Linked DNA regions of Homo sapiens: region 1 is linked to region 2. Evidence: promoter capture Hi-C in 16 types of primary human blood cells and fetal thymus (Javierre and others, 2016). All regions are on one chromosome and are shown on one strand. The core of a region is centred on a gene start or on the middle of the fragment in contact, and the rest is flanking DNA. Distances in the headings are between cores, read along the strand shown.

Region 1 (4,636 bases), core at 716-3,215, 690 kb after region 2:
ACACACCAGCCTGGGCAACAGAGTGATACTCTGTCTCAAAATAAGTAAATAAATAAATGAGCTCTCAAGCATCTTGGCCGAGCATGGTGGCTCACGCTTGTAATCCCAGCACTTCAGGAGGCAGAGACGGGTGGGTCACTCACGGCCAAGAGTTTGAGACCAGCCTGGCCAACATGGTGAAACGCCATCTCTACTAAAAATACAAACAAACAAACAAATAAGCAAGCCCTCAAGCCTCTCAGATGGCAGGAGCCCAGGAACCAGAGCAGGGAGGCCCGGGCACAGGGGCCCATGATGTCTGTGCCCATGATTTCACAGGAAGGAGAATAGGCAAAGAAAACCCTATGCTCCGCCACCAGCTGGGCACCTCTACAAGGTGGCAGTACCAACAAAAACACAGGAGCAAGGCCATTCTTGGCAAACGCTGACCCAAATGCACCTGGCACCCCATCATGCTTTGCTACCTGTGCATCTCTTCTGCTCCAACAAGGGGGCGGAGCCACAGGGGTCGGGAAGGCCCAAGGCAGACCCGCAAGTTCCAAAACCTTTTACGGCAAGAAGCCTTGCATTCTACCATGATTCATCCAGTTACCTTCTAGCTTCAACCAGATACTGGCTTCGTGATATAAGGGACCTGCTGGCTAGGCACGGTGGCTCATGCCTGTAATCCCAGCACTTTGGGAGGCCAAGGCAGGTGGATCACGAGGTGAGGAGTTCGAGACCAGCCTGTCCAACACAGTGAAACCCTGTCTCTACTAAAAATACAAAAAATTAGCTGGGCGTGGTGGCGGACGCCTGTAATCCCAGCTACTTGGGAGGCTGAAGCAGGAGAATTGCTAGAACCCGGGAGGTAGAGGTTACAGTGGGCTGAGATCGTGCCACTGCACTCCAGCCTGGGCAACAATGCGAGACTCCATCTCAAGAGGAGAAGAGAAAAAAAAAAAAAAAGGAACCTGCCTAGGACAGGAACCCCGTCAGGTCAGTTATACTTTGATGACCGGTCAAGGAAGCAAGAGGAGGATCCTCTGACCAACTGCGTTAACTGCTTTGAAAACCAAGAGACCCGCAGCACGACTTCAGGCATGCCCCCACCTCCCAGGCAGCAACGCTGGGAAGAGTAGGCCCCGGTTCCCCATACCCCGCCCCGGTACCGTGTGTATCCACAGCAAAACATGGCTCTTCCCATCGACAACTGGGCATAGCTGTTGGTTTTGTGCCAATCACCCCACTTGGGAAACCCTGAGCCACCATGCCTCAGGGAAAGTGGTGGCACTTCCTGGTGGCACCAGGAATCGCACAAGGCCATCACTGCCGCCTGGTGCACAGGGCTCCCGCGGCTGGCATCTCCAGAGCCTGGAGGAAGAGGGTAGAGGAAGGTAGCACCGGCTGCAGCAGGCCTGGCTGCTTCGCTCTGCACACCCCCACTTTCACTTTCTGGGTATGACTACTTCGGAGTGTAGGGCAGGCACTGTTTGCAAGTCCCGTCCTTCATTCAAAGCTCACTCACTTCCGAAGCAGGCGCGAGCTGTTGTCAAAGGAAAGTAATTACTCTACTTTCTAAAAACAAAACAAAAATAAAAATGGAGTGACTGCCCACTCGGAGAAAGCTTTTGAAATCCCTCCTCCCCGGATGTCCCAACGGCAGGGCTCAGGCTGGAGCTGCTCCCACAGTCTTTCCAGGCACCCGGTGCCCTGCTGAGGCACCGGGCCTCTGAGGCTACCCGGAAGGTCAGAAAGAAATGCCCCTCGCTCGCCTGCAGCCCGTCCTGTTACAGCGTGTGCCTTATCTTTCATGATCAGTAACCACCAGCACCCATCAAGGCCTCAACAGAGAAAACGGCAAACACAGACCTTTATTTGCAAATGAGAGGCTGCATCAGGGCTGCCAGGGAAGAACCCGGAGGGAGGGCTCCCTAACCCCCGAGGCCAGCCCCTTGCAGGGGTTCAGACCTTCCTTAGACCCCGTTGGAAGCCAGTAACAAACTACTTTCCCCAGAAAAATGCCATACAACTTTGCATAGATTCCAGGATCTCCCCAGGCATACTACATGGACCCAGGAAAAAAAAAAAACCCTCCATTTTAAAGAAAAGAGTAAGGGGAAAAGCCTACAAAAGAGCAGGGTAAAAAGAAAACTCTTTTCCTCTTCTGTTCCTTCTCACAGGGTAGGGCGGGGGAGGACGGGACACACGAAGCTGCCTCTTGCAGTTCCAGCCCAATTACTCTGCCCACCAATGCACTACAGTCTCCCCTCCTGGTTAACTTTTGCAGACAATGACCAAGTTTAATGTAAGGGGGAGAAATCCCAGTATCTATTTCTGAGCAGAAAGCTTTCAACCAAAATTAAAGATCGCAACCACTCAAGGATTGGGTCGAACGGAGGAACCCACACGATGGACGCCGGGTCCCTGCCCCCGGTGGGTCTCGGCGGGCCGAGTTCTCGCCCTCCAGGGAAAGGAGGCCGCGCGAAGCCCCCATCCCGGCCCTGCCCCCGAACGAGCAACCGGTGGAATAAGACTTCCCGCACGCCCCAGCTTTATTCACAGAGAGCCCACCAGGGCCATGTGGGTGTACACGGTTCGGGGTGCGCATTTCTCCCCGGATGGGCTTGTATCACGTTGTCACTCCGGCGCCCCCCAAAAGTGGGAAGGAGGGGAAGCACCCCCGTCCCTCCCGCTCCAACTCGCCCTCGCCCGGATTAAGCGATTTTCAGGCTGATTTCAAAACGGGAACTGGGTCTCCCCCTGGTTTGGGTGCAATAATCCGGCAACTCAGGGGGGCTCAAAGTCAGCTCTGGGCCCGTAACTCTGGGAGGAGGCCGCGCAGAGCCCAGGGCCGAGCCCGGCCTTGCCCCCCGCCCCGGCCGCGGCGCGCGGCGACGGTCCCCAGGCGCGGGCCCCAGCAACGGCTCGGGAGCGAGGCCGGCGGAACAGGCGCGGGGAAAGTGGCCCCGCGGAGCGCACGGCCGCAGGCCGGGGCCGCCGCGCGCACCTTCCCCCTCCGCGTCCTCCCTGGGTTCCCCCTTCGAAAGATGGCGGGCGGAGGAAAGGGGGAAAAAAATCCCTTCCGTGAGGGAGGGCGCGCGGAGGCCGGGCTGGCGCGGGGCGCGCGGGCCGCGCCAACTCCGGGCTGCGCGCCCCGGCCGCAGCGACGCCCCGAGTCCGGGACGGAGGCGGCCAAGCGGGAGCGGGAGGAGGGGAGCGGAGCCCGCGCCACCGCCGCCGCCACCGCCGCCGCGACCCCGGGCGGCCGCCGCGCTTTGTTGCATCGTGGCCGCGCACAAAGGCGGCGGCGGCGGCGGCGGCCCCGGGCGCCCGGTTCACCCGGACGCGCCGGCGGACTGCGCGGGGCGCTCGGGGCCGCGCTCCCCGGCCCAGCCCGGCCCGCCGCCGCCCGCGCCGCCCGCCGCCCCGCGCGCGCAAGGAAGCAAGAGAAAGGCGTACTTGGCCTCGCGGCTCCGGCGGCCGTCCCCTCCCGGCCCGCGCGGCCGGCTCCTCTTTGGCTCGCCGGCCCCGGCAGCATAATAGACGCGCCGGAGCCGAGCAGGGCTCATGCGCTGCGCCGCGGCGCCTGGCGGGAGTCGTAGTCCGCGGCCGGGCCCGCGCCGGGGCCGCCCAGGGGAGGCCGCGGGCGCGCGGACTACATGTCCCGGCCCCGCCGGCGCCGCGCCCCGCCCCGGGGGCCCCCGCCCGCCCCGCCGACCCGGCCGAGAGCGGGCCTGGCCCGGGGGGCGCGCGGGGGCGGGGCTCGGCGCCCGCCCGGCAGGGCAACAACGCTGGGACCCCGTGGGCCGTTCCCCGCCCGGGCCCGCACGGCTCTCCTCACCCCGTGTCGGGGACAGCGCCTGGCGGCGGATTTTCCGGTGCCCCAGGACGGCATGGAAGAAGCGGGCACGCAGCCAGCACCGCAGCCCCCGTCCGGGCACCCCGAGGCCCGCGGGAGCCACCCTCGAACCCCGGCCGCGCACGGGCGGGGCGGCGCGCACCTGCCGGGAGCCCGTGTTTGTAAACAAACCGCGCGCCTAATTAGCCTGGCGGGAGCGCGCGCGCGGGGCGGGGGGCGGGGCGTCGGTGCGCGCGGGCAGGTCGGCCCCGCCCGGGGAGGAGCCGCGCTCTGCCGCGCCCTCCGTGTCACCATCTCCCCCACCCGACTTGCTGGGGCGCGGGCGCCCAAGTTCGCTGTTGCTGGAGAGGGCGCCAAGTCCCCAGAGCTGGCGAAGAGTTAGGGGTGCTCCCAGCTCTGCCTGGGGACCTTCTCGCCCCAAGCCCCGGTTTCCCCATCTGCCCAGTGAGGGGCGGGAACTAGATACCAGGTTCCCAGCCTGAGATTCCGGGAGAGGGCCACCCCTGGCCCTTTTTCTGTATCTTGAAAGGTTCAGCCCGTGGACACGTTTTGCATCTTGTTTTGGGTGATGACGACTCGGGTTTACACATAAATCAAGTTGTGGGGGGGGGGGTTTTGTTGTTTTTTTGGTTTTTGTTTTTTTTTTTTTTTTTTGAGACGTTAGTTTCGCTCTTGTCACCCAGGCTGGAGTGCTGTAGTGTAGTGAGTGGCTCGATCTCGGCTCACTGCAACGTCCGCCTCCCGGGTTCAAGCCATTCTCCTGGCTCAGCCTCCCGAGTAGCTGAGATTACAGGC
Region 2 (4,590 bases), core at 1-2,500:
TTTTTTAAACCACACATATACAAGCCTTCCGATAAGTCTAGGCCTCAGAGTTTGATGACTCACTACCACCTCCAGAAAAATTTAAAAATTTAACCATCACTACTTAAAACTCTAGCAAAGCCACACGAACACATTAAGTAAACCGAGGAAAAAACGGCAAGTGGGCCACACAAGGCTCTCCCTGCGGGGATAAGGCTGTTAATTTGTCGACATAACGGGATTCTTTTAGAAGTAAAAGGCATAAATCTGCGTAACCACCACCACCTTTTGTTTTTGTTTTTTTGTTCTGTCAAGCTTAATCAAGAAAGAGGGAAGGGAGTTGTGTCCCTTCACTTTGTAGGATCGGATCCTGTCCACCCAGTTCCCGAATGCTCTCAACAGTTACCCAACCGCCTGTTTCAAAGGCTTCCCTGTTGCTCAGAATGCCACCTGGACACTTCTGGAAGGAGACTATCAGGGAGATAGGCTTCCCCTCCTCCCAGGCTGTGTACAGGTCCCCACTCAATCCAGCCCAGGGCAGAGTCCAAACGGGGAGGGAGACGCAGACAGGGTCAAAGGGACCCCAAGAGTCCAGCACATCTGGGAAAGAGAAAAGGAAAAGGTGCTGTGGCTTCCTGTAGCTGGGGCGCACGCCAGCGCGCCCCCTTTCCTCTGGGAGGACCCCCGGCCCCCGTTCGTCCCCGAGCTCCCAGCCCGCCTCCGGGAGCCCCAGTGAGAGGAAAAACGTGCGGGGACCCCCCAGCAGCTCCAAACGCCGAGGCGCTCCCCGCGAGCCTCAGACCCGACCCAACGCCAGGACTCGCGCCGCCGGCCCGGGAAGAAACCCCCACAGCCCGCGCCCCGGGCTGGCTGGAGGGTGGGGGCGGCTAGCCAGGCAGGGCGCCGAGGCCCGGGCTCCGGGAGCGGCCCAGCGGGCAGGGGAGACTGGGCCCGGAGGCCGGGTTTGGGGCTGTCCAGCCGGGACAGAGGGCCCGGGCGGGGGGGTCCCCCTGTGGGAACAAGGAGTCAGGGGGCGGCCCGGGCCTGGCGCCCTGCGCTGGGAGGCCGACTCCGGAGCGGCCCGGGCGGCCTGGGTCGGGACCGGGGCCGGGGGAGGAGCCCGCAGGCCGCACCTGGTCGGCGAAGTCCTCGGCCGTGCCCATCAGGTCGTTCTGGCCCATGGCGACGGCGGGAGGCTCGGCTCGGCTCGCTCGCTCGCTCGCTGGCTCTCGCCCGTCGGCGCCCGCACCCGCTGCGGCCTCCACAGGAAGTGCCCGGCGGCCGGCCTCGCTCCGCGTCGGCTGCGGCTCCAGCGGCTGCCACGTAGGCCAAGCCTTAAAGGGGCCGCGCGCCGCCCGGGCCCGCCCCGGTGCGTCTTAAAGGGGCCACGCGCCATCCCCAGCCTCCCGACCCATCCGCTCGAAGCCACGCCCGCCGCGCTCGACGCCACGCCTCTCACGCTGGAGGCCCCGCCCGCCGCGCGCAGGCCCTGCGGTCCCTCCCGGCCCGGCGGAACGCGTCCCTTTTAAGGGGGCGGGGACCTGGGGGTCTGGGGCCAGCGCGCGGGAGGGACGCCTGAGTGCCTCGAGGGCGCCGTTCGGGCGGGGAGGATCCCGCGGGTCCCACTGACCCACGCGGGGTGGGGCCAGGGGTGGACGCTCGCCCGTACGCGGTCGCTACTGATCATGCTTGGGCCAGGGTCCAATCGCAGGCGCCCCACGCAGGGGGAGCGAGGCCCAGGGTCCCCCGGAGAGCCCATGGAGAAGTACCAGGTGCCGAGTGTTCCCTGCGGGGAGGCGGGAGCTCCGTGGGGTAACGGTCGCAACCCTGGAGCTACGGCCGGCGGTTCCGACCGAGGGCGGCGAGGGGCCCGCGCCCTGGCCAGTGTCGGCCTGCAGCTCCTAGGTTGAACCCGGGGGGCCTCCAACGGTGACCTCCTGGGTGCCCTTTGCCACTCAGTTTCCCCCTTTGTGAATTGACTAAGGATTCTCCAGCCCTGGCTGAGTATTTGAGGGCGTGGGGCAGCTCCTCTATCCTTCGTGCCTGGGGTCTGTGCGCTTGGGTCCACCGAGGCAGGACCCCCGGGAACATCCCGAGTACATAATTGGGAGCCCCCAGTCCCCTAAAAACACCCCTGCAGCGTGGGTCTGTGAAAATGTTTGAGACCTAAAAAATTCACAAAACACAAAAGGAAAGCTGCAAAATAAAAGTAAATGTTTAATTAAATGCTTCTATACATGATATATACACTTTATTAAATGTTAGATTCAGCATTTGTGAAAAATGCATTCGCTTGGAAACAGTTTGCGGGTTAGATTTTTGTCACTTTGGAAGAATTGTCTTTGTGTGAGAGGACTATAGGGCGTTGCCAGAGGTGAAGCAGATGAGCTTCTGGTGGCCAGATAATTTTTAAAGTAAAGTTGTTTTTCAGATTAAAAAAAAATAGACGTTTCAGGAATATACCTGCTTTTGGAAAAAAAAATAGACTTGATTCGAGATACGGCTCCATTTTACTGTTTAATTTGCTGCCTAAGCTTGAACGCTCTCACACCAGCTCTGCCCTCAGCCCGCTGTGGCTTAGAACAGCAGTCCCTGGCCGGGCTCGGTGGCTCACGCCTGTAATCCCCAACACTTTGGGAGGCCAAGGCGGGCGGATCACCTGAGATCGGGAGTTCAAGACCAGCCTGACCAACATGGAGAAACTGTCTCTACTAAAAATACAAAATTAGCCAGGTGTGGTGGCGCATGCCTGTAATCACAGCTACTCGGGAGGCTGAGGCTGGAGAATCGCTTGAACCCAGGAGGCAGAGGTTGTGGTGAGCCAAGATAGCGCCATTGGACTCCAGCCTGGGCAACAAGAGCAAAACTCTGTCTCAGAAAGAAAAAAAAAAATAGCAGTCCCCAACCTTTTTGGCACAAGGGACCAGTTTTGTGGAAGACAATTTTTCCACAGATGGAGGCGGGAGGATGGTTTTGGGATGATTCAAGCACATTACACTTAGTGTGCAGTTCATTTCTATTATTATGTTGTAATACATAATGAAATAATTACACAACTCACCATAATGTAGAATCAGTGGGAGCCCTGAGCTTGTTTTCTTGCAACTAGACCATCCTCTCGGGATGATGGGAGACAGTGACGGATCATCAGGCATTTGTTTCTCATAAGGAGCATGCAACCTGGATCCCTCACATGCACTGTTCACAATAGGGTTCACACTCCCATGAGAATCTAATGCTGCTGCTGAGCTGACAGGAGGTGGAGCTTGGGTGGTAATGCGAGCCATGGGGAGCGGCTGTAAATACAGATGAAGCTTTGCTCCACTGCCTGCTGCTCACCTCCTGCTGTGCAGCCTGGTTCCTAACAGGCCACGGACTAGGTTGGGGACCCCTGGCTTAGAATATCCAGTGTCATGAGCAGGCTGCTCACAAGGCTGGATTACAGACTCCTAAGACTTTTATGGGCTCCGAGAGTCCCTAGGCTCAGGCTTCCATCCTCATATCTCCTCCTCTGGGTCCTGCCCTCCCTCCCCCAATCCTCTGATGAATGTCAGCCTCCAGCAATCCCCGGCCCAGCCCCCTGCCCCATAGCACTTGGTCTCTGCACAGAGTTCTGGCTTGGTGGCCATCTCTCCAGATTTGGCTCAAATCACAGGCTCTAAGATCAGACCCCCAGAGTTACCCCAGGCAGTGTCCTGCTTTCTAGTGACATAGCCTCAGGCAAGGACCTAGCTCCTTGTGCCTCAGTTTTCCCCAATGTAAACACAGAGGTAGCAATGGTGTCAACTGCAAAGGGTGGCTGTGAAGTGCTTGGCACCATGCCAGGCACACAATGGCTTCCTGATTGTACCAGTCACAAGATTGGTTACTTTCTTGTTGGAAACCAGTTGGGAGGTGGATGCTGGAAGTTGAGGTCACAGAGGTCTATAGAGAGTGAATAAGCCCTTTTTCTCTGGGAGGTTCTTGCACTTGAGTGCCCAGCTGGTCCTCATTGCAGGTTGGGGGAGGGATACAGGGTTGTAGAAGAGCTCCAGAATCGGCCCCAAATAGGTGAGATCAGAGTTCTGCCATTGAAAGGCTTCTTGCCCTCCTTGGGCCATTTCCTCTATTGCAAGATGGGGTGGAGCCACTTGCTCTGCCAGCCTGACAGGGGAGTTAGCAGGGCCAGAAAAGGAGTTGGAGCTGGGCTTTTGGAAAGGGAAAAGTTGTGTGCATTTCCTGAAAGCTTCTCTCTTCCTTGCTGATAGGTTTTGTACCAGCTGAATCCTGGGGCCTTGGGGGTGAACCTGGTGGTGGAGGAAATGGAAACCAAAGTCAAGCATGTGATAAAGCAGGTAAGAGGCCAAGCCTGTGCATCCCATGCCGGGTGGTTCTGTGACTGTGATTTTCCCCAATACAAGCTCTTCCCATGTTGGAGAAGCTTCCTGATGCGGCAGCTGGATTCCTCGCTGCTGACACTTGCGGAGACTAATCTGGTTGGGGTAGATGTGGGGGTGCGTGAAGCTCTGTCACCTTGATGGGGAAGCAATGCTAATTTTTACTCCAACACCACCACCTCCCACCATTTACGCATCACGTGCTGTATGCCAGGCACTGACTCACTTCATCTCC

The links. Contacts are between HindIII fragments. The CHiCAGO score rates a contact against its expected background, and 5 or more counts as called.
Region 1: a contact is called between a fragment that was not itself captured here and the fragment with the promoter of SURF4 in region 2, in 1 of 17 cell types (fetal thymus). The highest score is 7.9, in fetal thymus.

The regions. Positions count from the first base shown.
Region 1 is chr9:134,064,504-134,069,139 of GRCh38, forward strand. BRD3 (bromodomain containing 3) reads right to left here and starts at 3,523. Exons shown (of 12, transcript NM_007371.4): 1 at 3,442-3,523. RefSeq lists silencers at 2,969-3,218, 3,399-4,128. The HindIII fragment of the contact is 721 bases long and covers 1,606-2,326 here.
Region 2 is chr9:133,374,810-133,379,399 of GRCh38, forward strand. SURF4 (surfeit 4) reads right to left here and starts at 1,251. Exons shown (of 6, transcript NM_033161.4): 1 at 1,113-1,251. The coding sequence starts at 1,160. It overlaps STKLD1 (serine/threonine kinase like domain containing 1), which reads left to right and starts at 1,557. Exons shown (of 18, transcript NM_153710.5): 1 at 1,557-1,751; 2 at 4,227-4,313. The coding sequence starts at 1,665. RefSeq lists silencers at 676-955, 966-1,205, 1,296-1,795. The HindIII fragment of the contact is 2,219 bases long and covers 293-2,511 here.